Linked DNA regions of Homo sapiens: all the other regions are linked to region 3. Evidence: promoter capture Hi-C in 16 types of primary human blood cells and fetal thymus (Javierre and others, 2016). All regions are on one chromosome and are shown on one strand. The core of a region is centred on a gene start or on the middle of the fragment in contact, and the rest is flanking DNA. Distances in the headings are between cores, read along the strand shown.

Region 1 (3,734 bases), core at 754-3,253, 830 kb before region 3:
GAGTACAAATCTCATGTGATTTTGCTATTGTTGTTGCTTACATTGATATAAAAGAATCATAATAGATGTATTTCTCATTACATTAAAAAAGACATGTAGGGGCTATTTAATTGACCATATACAATCACAAGACAAGAGTCTATTACCTTCTAAAGTAAAACATATGCATTTTCAGCCAGAACAGGAGTCATAAATAGAAACATTCGAATTCCATGATCAGAAAAGCGCTTTTGGCTAATAAAATTTACCATCACAGGTAGTGTGGGTAGAGAATAACAGGGGAAAATATTCAAACCCACCGTAAGTTGACAGCACTGGTTATCCCTAATGAAAGCAATGGCAGTCAATATACTGTCACTGAAATAAATGTAGCATTTTAAAGAAATATCCCGATCATTTTAATTTCAGATATCCTCATCCTATGTCAAACATGACTAAGAGAAGCCATCCAATGCCACGCCTTCTTCTCAGGTGATTCTTTTATTATTTCAGAACATAGGCAGGTAAAGTTATGATTTGAAAAACAAGGAATTCCAGGAGGATTATTTAGACTCATTCTATGTGTTGCAAAAGATTTAAATCACTGGGTATGTTTCAGTGTTCACTTTTAATTCAATACAATAATAAATTGTGGAAGAGCTGAATTGTCCAATGGTGAAAAAGACTCCCAGGAGAGAAGAGAGGGTAGTAATAATTTCCATCATCCTGCCAGGGTCCCAAGGGACAAGATTCAATTACACTTGGCAGAAACTTTCTGTGGAAGGATGTAAATGTTGATTCGCCTGTGAGATGACAGGAGAGAGGAATCAGGGGAGAGGGTGAGGCAGAATAGCAGGGTTTACTGTTTCTTCCATCCTGAGAATCCATGTCTACGGGCAAGTTCCTTGTTTTATCATAACAACCCAAAGGTTATGGGCGTCATGACCATTCTTTAAAAAAATCCATCTATCTTGGGAGGAAAATTTCATAAGCTTCCTTGGAAAACACTCAATTTGTTAAATACTCCCACTTTTAGGAAATCCTTACATCTAATGTATATCCCTCCTATTCGAATTTCTAGCTAGCCACTGTGTTTGAATTATATAGTGAAAAATACAAAATGTGTTTAAAATTAACTTGGCATCTAAGAATGCAGACTATGAGGAATGAAATCCCGACATAGGAAAGTTGTATTGCTTTGCAACATGGAGGTTAAAGGAACCATGTGAAGGTGCTACAAACACATTAGAAAAAATAAACGAAAACAACAACAACAAGGCCAGGAAGGGTGGCTCACACCTGTAATCCCAGCACTTTGGGAGGCCAAAGCAGCTGGATCACTTGAGGTTAGGAGTTCGAGACCAGCCTGGCCAGCATAGTGAAACCCCATCTTTACTAAAAAAATACAAAAATACAAAAATTTGCCGGACTTGGTGGTATGTGCCTGTAATCTCAGCTCCTTGGCAGGCTGAGGCAGGAGAATTGCTTGAACCAGGGAAGTGGAGGTTGCAGTGAGCCAAGATTGCGCCACTGCACTTCAGCCTGGGCGACAGAGTGAGACTCTCTCTAAAAAAAAAAAAAACAAAACAACAACAGCAGAACATCCCTAACACCCTGGCAATCAAGCTGATTGAAAATCAATCAAGCTGTTGAAAAATATCAACAACAATATCGATATCAAATAAGATAAGAGCACTACCCAGATATAAGCAATAGTGGTTATTTCTGGGTAGTGCTCTTTATCTGATTTTTTATATATTTTACATTTTCTGAATTTTTTTGCAGTCCAGAACTAATTTTTCAAAAGAAAAGTTATTTGCTATGTTCTTCACAAAAGAGCCACAAATCCTTTCATTTTCAGGCTTTCTTCACTTTGGTAACTTGAAAAATAATCTATTACCTTGAGTTGCTTTATTTTAGCTTGAACATCACACTCAGAAAAATGTTCAATATTAGTGAGCTGCAGATCCATCTCTGTGAGCCAGACCAGAATGCTGTCCCGCGCAGTCTCAAACTCCTCACGCTGGCCAATAAAATGCTGGAAGGCAAGAGGAAAGTAGTAACAATTATTTTTATTAAAAGTCCTTCTAAACATATGGAGATGGCACAGCGAATTCCAGTGTTCTGTAAAGTCATTTTCTCAGCAAGCAATGAGAAGCCTGCAATCCTTTGCTATATCACTCCCCGGTTTACTCCTCCTGCCATCCCATTCTTACAAAATCACTGAGACTGTGTCTCAAGACTGCATTCAAATGGCCCAGTCCCATCCTCTGGCCTCTAAATTACAGATGAGGCATAGCAAAAACCTTGAGTCTGCGCAAGATGGAGGTGACACGCTTTTGCAGGTTGTCCCATCTCTGGTTGCCTTCGTGAACCATCTGTTTGAGGCTACATGCTGAATCAGTGCGGTTCTCCCTGGCCAGGCGGCGGTACTGCTTGTTGATCAGTTCCAGCTGCGTCAGGCACTCGTGGACCTGTCGCTGGAAAGCCTAAGGCCACAGAGAAGCATATCAGTGTGAGAAATCAGCGAAGGACTCTCAGTAGTGGCTCCTGGTTTTCTTATTGTAGCGTCTGGGAGAATGGGAAGTTACACTATCACAGAGGGAAAGAATGATGTCTAATAACGGTACACTTCCCCTTGTTAATGCAAAGTCATCTAGTCAGCGTAACTTAAAGGAAAGGGAGAATCTATCAAAAAATATGAAAATGGGGAGTAGTAATGAATAAACACACACGCATCCAACACACATATATAGACACACACACATACATACACACACATATACACGTAGCTTTAAAAATAATTAATGTCCTGGAAACAAATATTCCCACAAAGCAAACCACTATAAAAAATATACACGTGTGTGTGGAAATGTGAGTTTGAAATGTTGACAACTTCTGCTGTCAATATGGAGAAAAAGATATCTATAATGGAACTGTTTATTTGTAAAATATGTACTTTTCTAAAAATCTAGAAATTACCTCAATTCTGCTGTCCATTAGGAAAAAACTTAAAACTACCTTTTGCAAAAGGTCTTCCAAAAAATCAAGCTATTATAAGCTTTTAAGAAAAGTAATTTAGTAAAATACAAGTAACTTTATATTTTAAAAAATTTGGAACATGCTCTGTTTCTTTTTTGTTGTTCCTGTGATTTAATTAGTTTTTATAAAACATGTTAGAGCTAGTGTACCACCCACACAGTAGCATCAATTTACTTTTGAGGCTATCCCAGGGTCAGTTTAGAGATTCTGAAGGTAAAATATTCTTTTCTGCCTTTTCCCTCCAATGTAGAAGAGCCCTATAGCATAAGAGTCATTTGGCCAAAATAAAATGAAGCTTTAAAAAAAATCATTTGTATGATTTATGACTGATTTTTATCTTGGCATTAGACCAAAATGAAAACTATAATTAATAAATTGAACCGCACTCATCAAATCCCCAAATTCTGTTTTCCTTGGCTCATCACACTGTTTACATGTGACCACATTTCTGTCTCTTAAATTGCTTTCCTTGTGAGAGCTGCTTTCAGAGCCTTCATCCTAGGAAATCCTAGCTTCCAGTCTAAAAACCTTAAGTTATTTCTCCAGCAAAGGGAGTGGTAAGGAAAGTTCAGCTCTGGCCATGACTGGAAGTCCCAGTACATGTTTGCCCACTGGGGTAAGGTTGGAGTACCCCCAGGCAGATACCCCAGCACACCCATGTCCATCCCAAACGTTCATGCGATTGGACCAGCTAAAGACTGCCCCCAAGCACA
Region 2 (3,531 bases), core at 55-2,554, 690 kb before region 3:
ATGCGGTAGAATGAATTCAGACTGGGACAGCTGAGATTCTAGCGAAATTCTCCTCTTGTGTAGCTATATAATTGGAGCAAATAACTTATATCTTGCACACTGGTTCACTCATTGGTCCAATCTTGGGTGGGATTGAGGATTATATGAAATAATATTTGAGTGACTATGACAGCTTCTACCCATTTTGTTGTTGTTCCTGAGGTCTCCAGATGAGTCCCCAACATTTATTGATGATATTGGAACATGGAGACTGCTTCCTCTTTATTCCTAACCCTGTCACTGTCTTGAGTGGATTACTCTTCATGTCCTTAATAGCTTTAGATCCATTGATCCTCACTCACTCCCACCCCACTTCAGTCCTCCACACCCTTGTATGCTGTCATCGCTCAGCTGGACTTGTAGTTATGTCTGAAGTTACTTAAACCCCTTTCTTGCCAAGACTCTTGTTTCTCTTGCTCTTTTAACCTTTACTTCATCCACTTGGAAACCCGCAAACATGACTCAATCCAGAGTCATTTATGCATGTGTGTGTGTTACTGACACACACACACACACATACACACACAAACACGCACACACACACATACACATGCAATCCAAGCTGTCAAGGAGATACTGCAACTTCTCAAATTTTCAAAAGTCTATGTATATTCACACTCACCCTTATCTTATGCTTTCCAGTTTCACTGCTTAAACCTGACTCTCCCACAGACTCTGAGAATCCCATAAACTGCTTTTTCAAGGATCTTGGTCTATTAACATCCTCTCTGGCTTTGTTGACTTTCTCTCTTCCATCCAAAAACACCTGCACGCACTGTTTCTTTTATTTGTTTTCTTGAAGGATATCACATTTTCTAAAAAGTCCACAGTTCACAATGTGACGGATCGTCACACGTGAATGCACTTGCACACACAGGCTCCATCCTAATTTCTTTGTTTTCTCCCTTTCATTTCATAATCCAACTTCTGAAAGGGTGATTTTCATGGGACTTTCTCACCCTCGATCCACTTCTAAATTCCAGTTTGGACTTTGATCCTGATGACTGCAGAGCTTGCTCTCACCAGCTTCTTCTCTTTGACAAAAAATGATGAATTTTCATCCCTTCCCTTGCCAGACCTCTAGCATTCAATAGCACTGACAAACCCTTTCCGGAAACACTTTCTAAAAAATCTCTCTGTTCTCCTCCCAGCTTTCTAGTCATTCACTCTTTCTCTTTTATAGTTTGTTTTCCACTCACTCGCCAATATTGGTGAATTGATAAGCTCCAGACTCACATATCCAGATGTTCATGCATATCCTGTAGGCTCTTCAAAGTCAACATTTCCAAAAGGAACCAATTTAGGAAAAAACAATGAAGTATTATCCATCTTGCAATAAATGGAATGTCTTCTCACCTAAGCTATAAACTTGGGATTTATTCCTGATTTCTCCTCCCCCTTAACATCCACTGCTTATGGGAGGATGGAGTGCTAACGATGCATATCCTGGCCACAGCCTTGGTTCAAGTTCTCATTACAGTAACAGCTTCCTAACTCAAAGGTTGCAAACTGGCAGCCTGTGGGCTGCCTCTGACCTGCACATATTTAGTGTGGCTTATACAATGTTTTAAATTGTTTAAAATCTCTCTTCATGAAGATAGAGAGATTTCATTAAAATTCACATTCGTAGCTTGTTTTGCAAACCACAAGGTATGGTAACACTGGGCCCTGTGTCTTTGTTAAAGTAATGCTAACAGAGGAGACATTGCCTCATTTATGTGGAGCAGGAGCTGTCCAGGCCTCTGTAGTCCCTCCTGGCCTCTGTAGTCCCTCCTGGCCTGTTTCTCTCATTTTTATCACCAGGGTGGACCAAGCATGAGACTGTGTAACTTCTGTTTCTAACAGCTCCCCTGGCTCTGAATTTGCACACTTCTATTCTCCTGTCCACATTGATCCAGAAGTATCAGTTCTGTACACAGCTTCTCATTAAATTCCCTCAGTGGTTAAATATTAGCTTCTGGAGGAAGCTGAAATTCCTTCCTGTGGCATTCAGGGCCTCCATGATGTGGTTCCCATATCCCTCTCAGTCTCATTTCCCCCTCTCCTCCTCCTCCAATGTTTCTCCAATTACACTGAAACTATTTGCAGTTGCCTGGATGGGCCATTTTGCTTCCCGCCTCCACAGCTTCCAACAGGTGGTTTCTTCTGCCTGAAAATCTTCATCTCACACGACCCAACTGCACTCCAACTGCCTAACTGTGCTCCTCCCTTAAAACTAAAGGGGGCCATCCTTGACCTCTGCCTGACTCCAGCCAGTTTAGGTGCCTTCTCTAGGCCCTCCCACAACACTGTACTGCCCTCGGCCACACTACCTGCCACCTTCTCTTGTAAGCATTTGCCTGTCCTCACACACACTGTAAGCTCCCTAAGGGCTGTCTGGGTCACTGCTTTTCGTCTTCATCCTGAGCACATTGTGGAGTGTTTGGCAAATAACAGGCAGGCCTATATGTTCATAATAAATCATGCTTGTAAATGCACTTATATAAATTCTATTATTTTATATACATGTAAAGTAATACTATTACTGTCCATAAGGAAAAGCAGGAATGCCTTTAAATGGTGTAAACATTTTACATTAGATACTCTATTATAAATACAGAAGGCTCCCAAAAGAGCTAGAATAAAATAAATTTATTACAAATAATTTTTTTCTGGCAGTCTCACTCTGTGTGTGTGTGTGTGTGTGTGTGTGTGTGTGTGTGTGTGTGCGCGCGCACGTGGCTCATGCCTACAGATATGAATGACAACTCCTGGTTTCTTAAAAGGATTTGAAAATATGTCACCTTTTATAGATGAATAATTTCTATTTATTTGAGGTACATACATAAATTGAATTAAAATAAATCACTCAGTACTATAAATAACTACTAAAGTCAATACTTGATGTAGTGAGGAGTCACTGTTACAAATACGTTTCTCATTGCTTATGTGCCTAAGTTATAAGACTTATGAGTAGATTCCTAAGGAAATAAATTTGGACAACTGTAGCTACTATTTGATCAGTATTTTCTAGTTTAAAAAGCACTTTCACGATTCATGTCACATTTCATTTTCACAATGCTGTGAATTAAGTAGTATTGCTTCTCACTTACAAATGAGGGTATCAAGGGACTTCCCAGGTGCACTCAGCTTAGAGGAGAAAGAGCTGCAACTCAGTGTGAGCTTTTAACTTGAAGGCCAATGATTTTCCCATTACACTCTTGCTCCCTCTTTTCAAATGTATTCCTCCCTCAACTCTTCTGCAGAGTCTAAGCCTTGGCTTGCTTCTAAGGGGAATCAAGAAGCCTACAGCAAAATCTAGGAATGCCTCGGTATTTCTACCTTCAAGTAAGCTAAACTGTTATTACATTTTAGCTAATAGCTACTGTCAGAGACAGAATACACTGTGAGTGGGACCAGGTAGTTATATAACGGAGATCTACTTGCAGGAACAGCAGGCACAAAACCTTTTTTTTTTTTAACAACTGTGATTTTATAAAGCAGTTCTATTTG
Region 3 (3,468 bases), core at 865-3,364:
ATCACAAGGGTCTAGTCAATACAATCTATTTTTAATCACATAAGCCAAATCCCTTCATATTCCTTACATTGACAATCATTAACATTTGAAAGTAGTAAAACACATTTCACAAAGAAGTATATATTTCAGAGTAACACATACTTTTCCATTAGAATGTATAGATTTAAGAATCAGATCCAAGTTTGAATGAAAATCCTTGCTTAGCCTTTTGACTAGCTTTGTGAACTTGGAATGTCCTATTCCTATTTTTCCCCCAAGTGCAGACACTAATAAGACTCATACATGGCATTGTTTAAACTTCTCATTTACCAACTCCCAGCCCAGTCATATAGAGAAAAGTAAATTTTACAATGTTTGATCTTACATTTAACTTTTCAATATAGACCTGATCCTCCATATCAAATATCATAAATAAGGCTGCAGTCCTTAAAAATCTTTGTAACTCTTCTGTTAAATAATTAAGTTCCAGTCTCTAATACCTACAGATAACGACCATGTGGTCAACGTTAGGCATGGCTATTCCTTAAGAATTTAAGAGGCCCAATGCTTGTGACCATAAAGTAATCTTTAAGAGAAAATTTTACAAAAGCCTCCTTTGAAAACTACTTGGAAGTAACATATATGTATTTTTAATTTCATCTCCTCAAACCTGTAAACTGGGGAAAAAATTCCAACAGGCAGTCATTTCTTTCTGAGGAGCAAGGTAGTAAAGACAATTAGAGTTATCAAAAAAGAAAAAAAAAAAACCCTCATAAGGCCATCAAGCTTCAGAATTTCGATGGTAGACTGACGATCCAGGATCTTCTAGAAATATATTTAATCTATTAAAATTAAAATTAAGTATTTTTTTCTAGAGTTCTTTTTTAATAATAGAGTCATTACAAAATAGTACAATGCCGAATTGCTAAATTTTTTCATTTTGGGTTATTTCTCAGGTAAAAATAAGTGCATATAGATTTTATTTAGAGGTAGCAACAAAGAGGATAAAAATAAGCATTTGAGTGCATTCCATTCTCTGCAAGCTTTGAAATAAAGGACTATCTAATTCTTCATGAGTTATCGGGAAAAAGTCACCAATTCTTCGATTCTTACAAAATCATCTTAATACTATGGACAAATTCAAGGTTCGTAGTAAAAATTGCTTTTTTTAAAGTCTTCCCTTTCCACTCCAGGCCCTGAGACTGGGTTAACGGGCAAAGGGAGAAAAAATTGGGAAAAAGTAACGTTTTTGTTTGGATGTCCCAGTTGAGTTTGGTCCAATGAGTTGGGGGGGTGTCTCTCCATTTGGCGGGAGTGGGGAGGGAGACCCTGGAACTCCTGAGGGATCGGTGGGGCTGCCCCTCAGGGCGCGGGACACGCGGAGGAGGCGGGAGATAACCGCGAGCGCGATCTCCCGCGCCCGCCAGCAAGGCTGGGACCGCGAAAAATCGGGGAAACTGCCTTTGGCTGTGAGGGTGCGGGGCAGATGTAGAAAAGGGGCGCAGGGGGAGAAGGTGAGGCACCTGGCCAGGCCCTGGGGGCTTCTCGCTCGCAGCCCTGTCACCGCCGGGGGCCCCGGGGTGGGGGAGGGGAGGGGCATTTGGCGCCTATTCAAGCAGGGTGGGGTAGGTGGGTCTTCCGAGGAGGAAAAAGGGCGCCCTGGGATGCCACGACCCGCACCTCCCGGGGCTGGAGTCCACGGTCGGCGTGGGTGGCGGGACCCCGCGGCCCGCCATCCCGCCCCTGCACATCTGGCTCTTCTGGCTTCCCCCCGACACCCAGCCGCCCTCCTCCCGGACCCAGGAACCGCTGCCGCCGCCCGAGGCCGGGCGTGTGGCATGGCCGCGCGTCCAGGCTCCGAGGGACGTCGGGTCAGGGTCTCAGGCTGCGACCCTCCCCGTGCACCCCTCCTGGCGTGCGCGCCCCCCTCGCGACCGCTCCCCTCACTCACTATCCGAGGGTCGAGGGCGCCCGGCGGCTGTCACTGCGCTGGGGCTGGCGCTGCAGGAGCAGCGGGGTGGCCGTAGGGCGCAGCTGCAGGGGCGCCGGCTCATGCCAGCCGACGTGGAGTCTGCCTCAGGTGGAGGAACCGCTCCGGGGGCAGCTGAGCAACCTGCCTGCTTCACAGACCTGTATCTCTTAAAAGGCGCCAGCTGGTACTTTTAAAATCTTTGAATTTGGTGCCTAAATCCGCGCGGTCCAATGAGACGCGTCGCTTGCATGCGCGCACCAATAGGAGGGCAGTGGGTGGGGGCGCCCTCGTCCGCGCCCAATTGGAGGCTGCCGAGGCGGGGCCGAGCCGCGAAGCCCAGCCCCCTTCCAGCTTACCGGCTCCCCACGTCCGGAAAGATGCTACGGCCGGGGGCGGGACCTCCGAGCACGGGGAGGCCGCGGCCCGGCCACACGTGTGGAGGGTCTATCACGCATGCGTGCGCCCGCCAAGATTCCTTCCGCCGTCTTCTGGACCGGCCTCCTGCAAGTCCTAATCTCAGCCCAAATTCAGCGCTGGCTTCCATCTGGAGATCTTTGATGGGTACAAATGGTAGCCGACTTTCTTCGATCATCTCTCGAACGGGAGTTCGGTGAGCAGCAACTCGGCTCGTCCGGGAATCCAGACTTTCCGGAAGACGGACCCTCCCCCCAGTCCAGCTTAGCCCGCCTCTCTAGGATTTACGCGCGCGCTCTGCTCTCCCTCCTAACTCGACCCTCCCCTTGACCCACGCCTCTGCGCAGGCGCCTTGGCGGGCTGTGGCTGCGGAGTTGGCGGGTCGGCGCCTGCGCACTGGAGTCCCCCGCGATTTTTTCCTCCGGGGTGGGCGAGGAGGCTGTGCGGCCTTCCCCAGCGGCTGTAGCAGGAGACCTGCGGCTGCATCTCCCAGGGCCTTCCGGCGGGGCCGAGGGTAGGACCGAGGCACTTCTTCCTTGCAAGCGCGTTTATTTGTATTTTCAACCACACTTCAGACGCTACTGGTTTATAGGAACGTTAAGTTTACTGAGTGTGCAGCTACGCTCCCCTGGGTTTTTGTTCCTTTCCTTAAAGGGCCAGGTGTAGGAGACAGTAGTCCTGCTCCCAAAAAAAGAATAAATAGAAGTGCCCGCCCTCTTGGGCTGGACCCCCGTGGCCAAGGGAGTTTTTAGTGATGGCTGGCATGGACGTCAGTATGAAAGTGTACCGGAGTATTAGTGATGCTTAACTTTTCACAATTTGAATATGCACTTAAGTAGGGCAGTGCATTCCCTGAACTCAGCTTTATGGCTACAGCCCAGTGAAGCAACGGGATGTGAACTCCAAAACGGCGAATCCTCCTTTGCTGTTTCCCTCTGGTGCCTTTCTGCAGCCTCGGAGTGAGTTCTTGGCTGTAGTCAGTTTTCAGTACCGTTAGTGACGAGTCCGGTGGGGCGCGGCCAGGATTAGGATGAATCATACAAGTGCTGGGTGGATCCTGTCTTTACCTAAAATTTTGATAATTAGTTGTGGGGCGCGGCCAG

The links. The method cuts DNA at HindIII sites, captures the fragments that hold promoters and counts their contacts. A CHiCAGO score of 5 or more calls a contact.
Region 1: a fragment that was not itself captured here is called in contact with the fragment with the promoter of FBXO5 in region 3 in 1 of 17 cell types (total B cells); the score reaches 5.8 in total B cells.
Region 2: a contact is called between a fragment that was not itself captured here and the fragment with the promoter of FBXO5 in region 3, in 1 of 17 cell types (naive CD8 T cells). The highest score is 5.7, in naive CD8 T cells.

The regions. Positions count from the first base shown.
Region 1 is chr6:152,149,674-152,153,407 of GRCh38, forward strand. It overlaps SYNE1 (spectrin repeat containing nuclear envelope protein 1), which reads right to left. Exons shown (of 146, transcript NM_182961.4): 134 at 2,286-2,468; 135 at 1,880-2,017. Among named protein-coding and RNA genes, the nearest start is that of SYNE1-AS1, 230 kb to the right of the region's middle. The HindIII fragment of the contact is 2,069 bases long and covers 970-3,038 here.
Region 2 is chr6:152,295,077-152,298,607 of GRCh38, forward strand. The region is part of intron 93 of SYNE1 (spectrin repeat containing nuclear envelope protein 1); the gene reads right to left. Among named protein-coding and RNA genes, the nearest start is that of SYNE1-AS1, 84 kb to the right of the region's middle. The HindIII fragment of the contact is 5,328 bases long and covers 1-3,531 here.
Region 3 is chr6:152,980,927-152,984,394 of GRCh38, forward strand. FBXO5 (F-box protein 5) reads right to left here and starts at 2,115. Exons shown (of 5, transcript NM_012177.5): 1 at 1,931-2,115. The coding sequence starts at 2,033. RefSeq lists silencers at 1,549-1,618, 2,099-2,418 and enhancers at 2,449-2,668, 2,959-3,078. The HindIII fragment of the contact is 9,521 bases long and covers 1,021-3,468 here.